2 separate regions of the Homo sapiens genome follow, and region 2 is linked to region 1. Evidence: promoter capture Hi-C in 16 types of primary human blood cells and fetal thymus (Javierre and others, 2016). All regions are on one chromosome and are shown on one strand. The core of a region is centred on a gene start or on the middle of the fragment in contact, and the rest is flanking DNA. Distances in the headings are between cores, read along the strand shown.

The links. Contacts are between HindIII fragments. The CHiCAGO score rates a contact against its expected background, and 5 or more counts as called.
Region 2: a contact is called between the fragment with the promoter of LINC03084 here and the fragment with the promoter of ZFPM2 in region 1, in 2 of 17 cell types (erythroblasts and megakaryocytes). The highest score is 7.5, in erythroblasts.

The regions. Positions count from the first base shown.
Region 1 is chr8:105,316,398-105,321,007 of GRCh38, reverse strand. ZFPM2 (zinc finger protein, FOG family member 2) reads right to left here and starts at 2,570. Exons shown (of 8, transcript NM_012082.4): 1 at 2,027-2,570. The coding sequence starts at 2,066. The HindIII fragment of the contact is 6,875 bases long and covers 1-4,610 here.
Region 2 is chr8:105,186,471-105,191,080 of GRCh38, reverse strand. It overlaps LINC03084 (long intergenic non-protein coding RNA 3084), which reads left to right and starts at 2,286. Exons shown (of 3, transcript NR_187537.1): 1 at 2,286-2,545. The HindIII fragment of the contact is 4,322 bases long and covers 1-4,264 here.

The DNA.
Region 1 (4,610 bases), core at 1,321-3,820:
CCCCAAATTGAATCCAATAAAAGTATTACATGCATATAAATAATACATATGTATGCATATATCAGCAGGCAATGCTCACTGTGAATAAATATATAAATATATTTGTTCACTTTCAAATGAAATAACTTTCAAGCATTTTTGATACTTAATAAATCACAGCATTCAAATAAACCACTAAAATGTTTTATGACTTGTAACACAAGAGTAGCATCAGCAATTAGTTTCAATGCTTTAATCTTCAATTATATGAGGTGGACATAGAAGGAAATAAAAAAATTAATGTAGCTAATTGAGAAGATAACAAAGTATTCCCAAGTAAAATCAGATGGTCTTGTGCCATACAATCAATTAATATTAATTATTTATTAACAAACCCAGGTGACAGCCATGAACTAAAAAGCATTTGTATCTAATAATGTTTATAATCATATCTTATAATAAGCACGGTTTTGTATTCTAAGATGCAACATTTAAACAGAGGAATCTGATCAATTGAGTCCTAAAAACTACAAGGCAATTGGTGGAAACCATGAATAATCATTCTGAAAAAGTGAGTCTTCAAAAACGATATCGCTACTTGATTAAAACTGCTTTGAGCCAAAAGTGAAGTCCAGTACTTGCTTTAACCCAAGTTGCATAGAGTGAGAACTGAAGTATAAGAGAAGGAATCGAAGAAATAAAAGCTAGAAAGTCATGTTTAAGTAGCAGACACACACACACACACACACACACACACACACACACACACACAAAGATCTGAATACTTAACTGTTGATAACTGTTTATAACCTGGCCCCCATTTCAAGGACAAGTTGATTGATAAGATTTATTTTTAAACTACACCAAATAGAATTTTCAACATTTGGGGGTGGGGCGAGTATGGTTAATAATCAGGGGGGAAAGGGATACTACTAAAGTCTTATCCTTAAATTACATCATAATTTGTTTAAAACTAATTGCAGACTCTGAGCAACACGGTGAAACAGACACATCATAAAGCTAGCAAAAAATAAACTAATAAGGTTTTTTCTTCTTTTCGGCCAAAGCGTTGAAGATATGTCGCAGGCCTATAAAACGCTATTGGAGGAATTCTCCCCAAGCCAAGAAAAGTTGACCGACTTGATCTCTGCGAGCGTGCCTGTTTCGGAAGGTGTCTCTTGACCCGCCGTGTCCTCTAAGCACCATCGGGACCCCCGGGCACCCGGGGGCTCAGGGCCATGCACTCCCCTGCGCGCCCACCGCCTTGAACTCACAGCTTCCGCGCTGGGAAGTGACTGGCGGCCCCTCCCAGGGAGGACTCCGCGCGCCACCAGGGCCAGACACCACCCGAATCCCCGCTCGGCTGAGCGTCCTGGCGGCGTGAGCCGGACCCGCCCGAAGTCCCAGGACACGACCTGCCAGCCACCAGCCCGCGCCCGCAGGGCAGAGACGCACGGCCGCCCGCCGCAGAGGCGCGAACTTTTACACCTACTTTTTGTTTCGCTTCGGGTTTGGTGTGGCTCTGGCACCGCCCAGGATCGGGACCCTGACGCTCTGATTTTCCACCGCGTGGGGAAGTTACCTCCCTCGCCCCGAGGTCTCGACCGCCCAGCTTTTCTGAGAAGTTTCTACCCTGGTTACTAAAAGTGGTTCCCAAGAGTAGTCCCACGTCAATCGCACAAAGCAATGACAACAACAATAATAAGCGTCTAAAGGAGCGGGACTGCCCCTCCGGCTGGACGACAGCGCCGGGGACTCGCAGCGTGCGCGGGTCGGAATTAAAAAAGCAGCCCGGGAGCGCGAGGGCTGAGCGGGGCAAGCATGGGCTGCTCCTCGCAGCCTCTCTCCTGCCCGAGGCTCGGGCTGGCCGTCTGTCTGTCTATGACTGTCTAGTTGTCCCTTCGACTGCTCAGGCAAAGTTTGAGACATCTAGGGGACCGGGAGCGGATCTCCCCTAGCCCCGCCACCCACCCACCGCTTTCCCGTCCCGCGCACCCCGCTCCTGGGCAATAATCCCACCAACTCCCGGCCCCGCGCGCAAACTTACGTTTGATCTGCCGGGGTTTGCTTTGCTTTCGCCGGGACATCTCGGCGGCGGCTGCTGCCGCTGGGGCTCCCGCGGTGCCCGCGGTCGCGGCTGCCGCTCCCTCGGCTCCCGCCGCCGCCGCCGCCGCCGCCGCCGCTGGCCAGGCTCGGCCCGCCGCCGGCCGGACTCCAGGTGCTCCGGGCGCTGGGCTCCTCCGGGAGCCGCGGATTCACGTTCGGAGATGAGCAAGCAAATGAGAGAAGAGAGACGGGGGCACAGAGAGTGTGACAGTGAGGAGGGGAGGGGGAGAGGAGAGCGACGGGGGGAGAATGGGAATGTACAAGCGAACGGTCAGGGAGAGAGAAAAGGGGAAAGAGAAGAGAAAAATAACACGGAAAGAAGGAAGAGAAGGAGGGAGGGACGGGAGAGCGAGCAGCGAGGAGAGGGGGAGCGCGGGGGCGCAGGGCGCGGGAGGAGGAGCGCGCTCGCTCGCCCCTCGCCCCGGCGTGCGGGACGGATACTCCGGCGCCGCCGCCGCCGCTCCGGGCCGCGCAGCTCCTGTTCTGCGGCGGGAGGCGGCGAGGCGCGCGAGGGAGGGGCGCGCCGGGGCTGTGGGGAGGGGAGACTATTCCATCAGCCAAAGGAGGATTGGCTGCATCCAAATCCAGTCCGGATGCAAACTACGGCCCCGGCCTTGGTCGGGCGAAGTGCGGGGGATCCAGGCGGTGGTGGGGGATGGGGGCAGGGGTGGGTGGGAGTTGGAGGGGAGGCGTGGGGACGGCTTGGAGGAGGGCCACCTTCTGCAGTTGTCACCGCGTCAACGCTGGGCAGCTGCCAGGGCACCCCGCCCCACCTCCTTCCAGGCAACTTCTTCCAACGGCCCTCTCTGAGGGACCCCAACTCTCCTCTCTCACGCCTCGCCAGTCCAGCGGGGCACAAAGAAATCTCAGTCTCTCCCTAAACTTTGTGCTTTCAGTTATGCCGCCCCCTCCCCTCACCCCCAACCCCCGCCCTCCCAGCTTCTTGGCAGGAAGGTTAGGCCACTGGCAAAGTCCTCGGCGAGAGCCAGATGATCACAAATGCCAACTGTGTGTCTTGGGGCCAGTTAAGTCCGCTCATCTGCCCAGGCTCTCAGAAGACCATTTCTTTGCTCTCAAGGCTCCCAGGAGACCGCTGCGGACACGGACCGTCCCGCTCTGGGCCCACGTGGATGAGGTGCTGAGTCGGATCCTCAACGTGTTCTGTCACCCACAGTTTCCATTTTAAATTGTAAAATATTCAAATTTGGAGACAAGCAGATATTTTTCTCATCTTGAAAAGGAGGAGCGAGCGTTAGCTAGCTGATTAGCCGTAAGTGGAAAACGAACCATCTCTAATAAAAATACTAACTTTTTGGGAAAGTCTGGGGAAGTTCTGTAGTCCCACCCTGCCCCGTGACCTTTCTATTCTCTTAGTCTTCTGCCACAGGGAAGCACCGATCGACTAATAAAAGATTTGATCTTGCTGTAATTTCCCAAGCGGGTAAGACCCAGTAACTATTTAATGGTTCTTTAGCTTCTAAAATTTTGTTTTATTCTTATTCAATTACTGTATGTGTAGTATATCGGCAACTGCAAGCCAAAAGGAGAACAAATTTTGAGGTGATTTGCATAGTTATTATTTTGGCCAAGTTAAACTGTATGAGGTTAGCTTATTTTCTTACAGTTTCATATACGGTAAGTATTAAATATATTCTCCCATGTGGGTTGGAAGGAGCTTCTATCCAAGTGCAGTGGGACTAGCTGCTTTATGTAATCAGTATTTACTAATAAACTCCACTGCAGTTCACATGAGTCCCCCAGATACTGCTGACTTTTCCCCCAGGAGGTTGTGAAGTGGACCATTCTGATCTCAAATTGTGTCCCCGTTTGCTTGGTTGACTATTATTTGTGTGAACCACACCAAACTGGATACTCTAAAAGGGTCTGGGGTCAGCACAGAGCCTGGGCTGATTGAGCATAATGCAAGATGCTCAGTGTGTAAGAGGCACTGTAATCAGTGTCATTTATAACCCCAACAGGACATCTTCTGGAAGGTGTAAAGAGTTGCCTTGTGAAAGGTATGGCCAAGAGAATCTTAATACAAAGCTGAAGACAAATTGTGAATTTTATTACATTACCATTAGTACTATTACCATAGGAGGCTGTAAGAATACATAGTCCTCTGCAGTGGAAAATGCACTAAATGACAAAGTCCCTCCTGTGAAGAACCAACAAATTAAGGCTGAAAGTACCATGAAAAGCAGGGCCATTTATGTTTGTGTTGTGGAATAAATAAGCAGAGAGAGAACTGCAGATTTTTACCTCCTTCATTTTCAATTCATTACAGTTAAATTGGTGTGCTTAGAATCAGATGTATTGTACATTATGGTTTTTAAAGATCTTTTTACAGAACTGGCTGAATTTTTATGTCACCCAAAAGGAATGCCCATTGGAATTAAAATATCGTAACTGTTTCTTTTGGAGTTTGAAGTGGTTAAATATGCAATGCAAAAGAAAAACAAATAAATCTCAGCTAAATGTTTAGTTTAAAAGCTAAAAGGAGCAGAAGTCAGAGAATTCAAGGC
Region 2 (4,610 bases), core at 1,037-3,536, 130 kb after region 1:
AATATTTGCAACTATTGATAAGACAATGGATTAATAACCAGAATATATAAGGAACTGAAATAACTCTAAGAAAATATCTAATAATACAATTAAACAATGGTCAAAATATCTGAAAAGACATTTCTCAAATAAAGACATATAAATGGCAAATAGATGTATGAAGAGGTGCTCCGCATCAATGATCATCAGAGAAATGCAAATAAAAACTACAGTGAGATATTGCCTCACCCCAATTAAAATAGCTTGTATCCAAAATATAGTCAATAACAAATGCTGGCAAGGATATGGAGAAAAAGGAACCTTTGTACACTGTTGGTGGAAATGTATATTAGTATGACTACTATGGAGTACAGTTTGGAGGTTTCTCAAAAAACTAAAAATAGAACTACCATAGAATCCAGCAGTCCCACTACTAGGTATATACTCAAAAGAAAGGAAATTAGTATATCAAAGATATAAGATGTATCTGCACTCCCATTTATTGCAGCAGTATTCCAATACCCAAGATTTGGAAGCAATGTAACTGTCTATCAACAGATAAGTGGATAAAGAAAATGTGGTACATATACACAATGAAGTACTATTCAGACGCAAAAAAAAAAAAGACTGTTATTTCTGTCATTTTTAACAACATGGATGGAACTGGATGTCATTATGTTAAGTGAAATAAGCCAGACACAGAAAGACAAACTTTGCCTGTTCTCACTTATTTGTGGAGGCTAAAAATGAAAACAATTGAATTTATGTAGATAGAAAGTAGAAGGATGATTATGAGAGGCTGGGAAGGGTTTTGGGTAGGGGTGAAGCATAAAGGATGATTAACGTGTACAAAAAATAGAATAAATATGATCTAGTATTTGATAAAACAACAGGATGACTACAGTTAGCAATAATCTATTGTACATTTAAAAATAACTAAAAGAGCATAATTGGGTTGTTTGTAACACGAATAAAGTATAAATATTTGAGGTAATGAATATGCCACTTATTCTGATGTGATTACTATGCATTGTATGCCTGTATCAAAATATCTCATGTGCCCCATAAATATATACACATGCTACGTACCCACAAAAATTTAAAAGGAAACAAAACAGAAAAAGACAAATCACAGACTATTTTGAATTGATTTCTGTGTTTGGTGTGAGATAAAGGTCCAATTTCTATCTTTTGCATGTGAATGGCCACCTTTCCCAACACCATTTGCTGAAGGGACTATCCTTTTCCCATAGTGCCATCTTGACATCCTTGTTGAAGGATGTCAACAATGATGACATCTTGACATCCTTGTTGAAGGATGTCATGCTTGTTAATCATATATATGTAGATTTATTTGTGGCCATTCTAATCTGTTACACTGGTCTATATGTCTGTAATGCCAGTCCCATATACAAATTTTTAATCACTATAACTTCGTAATACGTTTTGAAGTCACAAAGTGTGAGGCTTTTTTTTTTTGTTATTTTTTCTCAATTTTACTTTGGTTAGTTCGGCTCTCTTATGGTTCCATATGAGGTTAAGGATGCTTTTTTATTTGTGCAACAAATGCCACTGAGATTTTGATAGGGATTCCATTGAACCTATAGATCTCTTTGGGCAATATGGGCATTTTTACAATCTTGTCTTTTAATCTATGAACATGGGATGTCTTTCCATTTATTTGTGTCTTCTTTAATTTCTTTCAGTAATGTTTTATAGTTTTTCAGTGTAGAAGACTTTCACTTCTTTGGTTAAGTTTATTCCTAAGTATTTTATATTTATTGATGCTATTGTAAGTATTGTAAGTATTGTAAGGATTGTTTTCTTAATTTTCTTTTTGGATATTTCATTGTTAGTGTATAGCCACATAAGTAATTTTTGTGATAATTTTGGATCCTGCAATGTTGCTGAATTTATTAGTTCTAACAGGTTTTTTTTTGTGGAATCTTGAGAATTTTTTGTGTACCCATGTAATCTACTAATAGAGATCATTTTACATCTTCCTTTCTGACTTGAATGCCTTTTATTTCTTTGTCTTGCTTATTTGCTCTAGCTAGGACTTCAAGAACTATGTTAAATAGAAGTGACAAGATTGGGCATTCTTGCCTTGTTCCTGATTTGAGAGGAAAATTTTTCAGTTTTTAACTGTTGAGCAAGATGTTAGCTATGGGCTTGTCATATATGGCTCTGAGATAGCAAGATAAAAACTAGTCCTCTCAGATAGGCTGCCAAAAGCCAGAAATTTGGTTGCTGGTTTTATTTCTTTTCCTCTCCAGGAGGAAGCAAGGAGTTAGAGGTTTTCTTCTACTCTTTATTTACTGAGCCAGAGGAAGCGACCATGGCCAGTGAAGGGTCCAAATTTTTGCCTTTGTTCTCAGCAGCTCTCAACTTGGCACCCCTTCCTGTCAGTGTTCTTCTAGTCAGGACATAAACCAGTCCCTTGGGCAGCTCCTGAAAAAGTCTCAACATTGGACATATGTTTCAGTCTTCTCTTTCCATTCCAAGGGAGAAACTGAGATCTGGGAGTTTTCTCTCAATTGCATTGCACTGAGGAAGAGGGCCTATGGTAAGTGTTTGCCATGAATCTTCCTACTGGCATTGGTGCAGCTGGGTTTGTGTTTGCCTGGGATGCTGGAACCTTTTAGTTGGTTTCTGGATTTCTCACAAAGGGAAATGGTCTGTATTGTTGTTGAATTGCTTTCTCCTTAGAGGAAAGAGAGGCTAGGGCTCCCTATTCAATCATCTTGCTGATGTCCATTTAATTCCTCCAAAGATGTTTGTCTTGTAGCCCACTAAATTCCTATTCTAAGACTGCCAATTATTTTCTGTGTTTACCAAACGCTGTCATTCTAGAGTCTGTTTTCTTTAGCTTCCAGGGTGAATTTCCTCGCTTCTTATATTGCACAATTTGTCTTTCTTAGTTTCTGTTTCTGTTTTCTGATTCATTATCACGAATGATATCATTAAGAACCATCCTCAGAAAAGGAACATGAGAGGTAAATTCAAGATTTGAAAGCCTTAAAATATTTTATTTTGTTTTTACTCCTGATTAGTATCGGGCAGGGTTTAGAATTTTATATTCTGAATTTTGAAGTCTTTTTTTATTGTGTGATATCAACAAATGGTGCTGATAAGTCAAATTATAGATGGAAAATAATTCTAAAGGAAGTTTTAGATTTATCTATTTGTTGTACTGAAATTTCATGTCTCTAGAAGTACTTCTTTTTACATCTATTTTCTTATTTTCCTATGGACCTTCTCTTTAGCTTTGGGGCATCGACATTAAGTTATAGGTTAGTTATGAGTTGATTACTCGTGACTGTATGAAAAATAAAATTTTAAGCAGAATATGCTTTCTAAAATATTTGTCTATAATCTGCCAAACATCCTTTTTGTTATTCAATATTGGTAATCCAGAATAGATTCATATATGTTCTATCACGTATAAGCAAACATAAACTAAATACAAGAAATACTCTTGGAAATAAATAAAATAACCTAAGTGTCCTTTGATAAAATAATTCAAGATTAAATCGTTGTAGTCTATTATTCAATAATACTAAATTTACCATTCAGAAAAGGGAACAAAATTGCTCAGAAAAAAATTGAGCTCTTTGCCATCCTTATACGCAAAGAAGAGGTTTATGGTTCTTTAGTCCTCGTAAGAAACATATGAAATTGTATTTTTAATTTCCTAACAGGGAGCCATTGGTTAACTTATTTTTAGCTTGCAATTAGTAGAAGAAAATATCTCATATAGCAAATATTACAGTGTAATCTGATTTTACCTCTTGCAGAGTTTAGTAAACAAATAAACCCCACAACAATGACAACACAACATAAAAAAGTTTGGCTTTAAGCAAAAATACATCTATATTATTATCCTACAACATGGTATTCAAAACTTACATAATTTTGCTTCCATTTTTTCCAAAGATGCTAGATTATATGCTTTTACCATGCCTCAGCCATTTGGAAATAGACAGATAGTGCATAAAGATAAACTCAGTGTTAATTCAAGAAGGAAAACAGGAATCTACTGAAATAATGAAAAGCATCCAAGATCTCAGAGAGAATGCTGGCAAAAATCCCAATGATGGCATCTGCCTGACAAAAGTAAGTGAAGCCTCAGTAAGTGAGAGATGCAGAGAGCTGCCCTATATGACTCACCTTTCCACTAGGGATCTGAGCAACCCAAGGGAGAGCACTTTGTTTCTCTCAAACCCTGAAACTAACTTGAGGAGAGGCTTGGAGATGCCATGAGGGAAAGACAGTGGGAAAAGCTTCAGACATTTTCCTAGACCTGGGATTGAGAGGAGGACAACATTTTTAATCTGGTTGCATGATCTGGTCAGCCATTCTTTGGTAACCTGGCAGCATGGTCACACAGACATTTGAGTCTCAGGCCAGACATTGGAGTGCCTGCTCTGGGGCCGGGTTGTGGCCTCCACAGCCAGAACTGTGGAAAGCACCTCAACAGTAGGCGCTGGAATTGTGCTCTTCCTTGTGACAAGTCTAGGGTGGGGAGAGCTTCTAAAGCTGCAGTTTATCCTAGGCAGTGAGACTTGCAGGTAGAGCCAGTTCAGTGACCTGGAACCAGTCTGTGGATGCCATTGCTGGGTGCCCCAGCC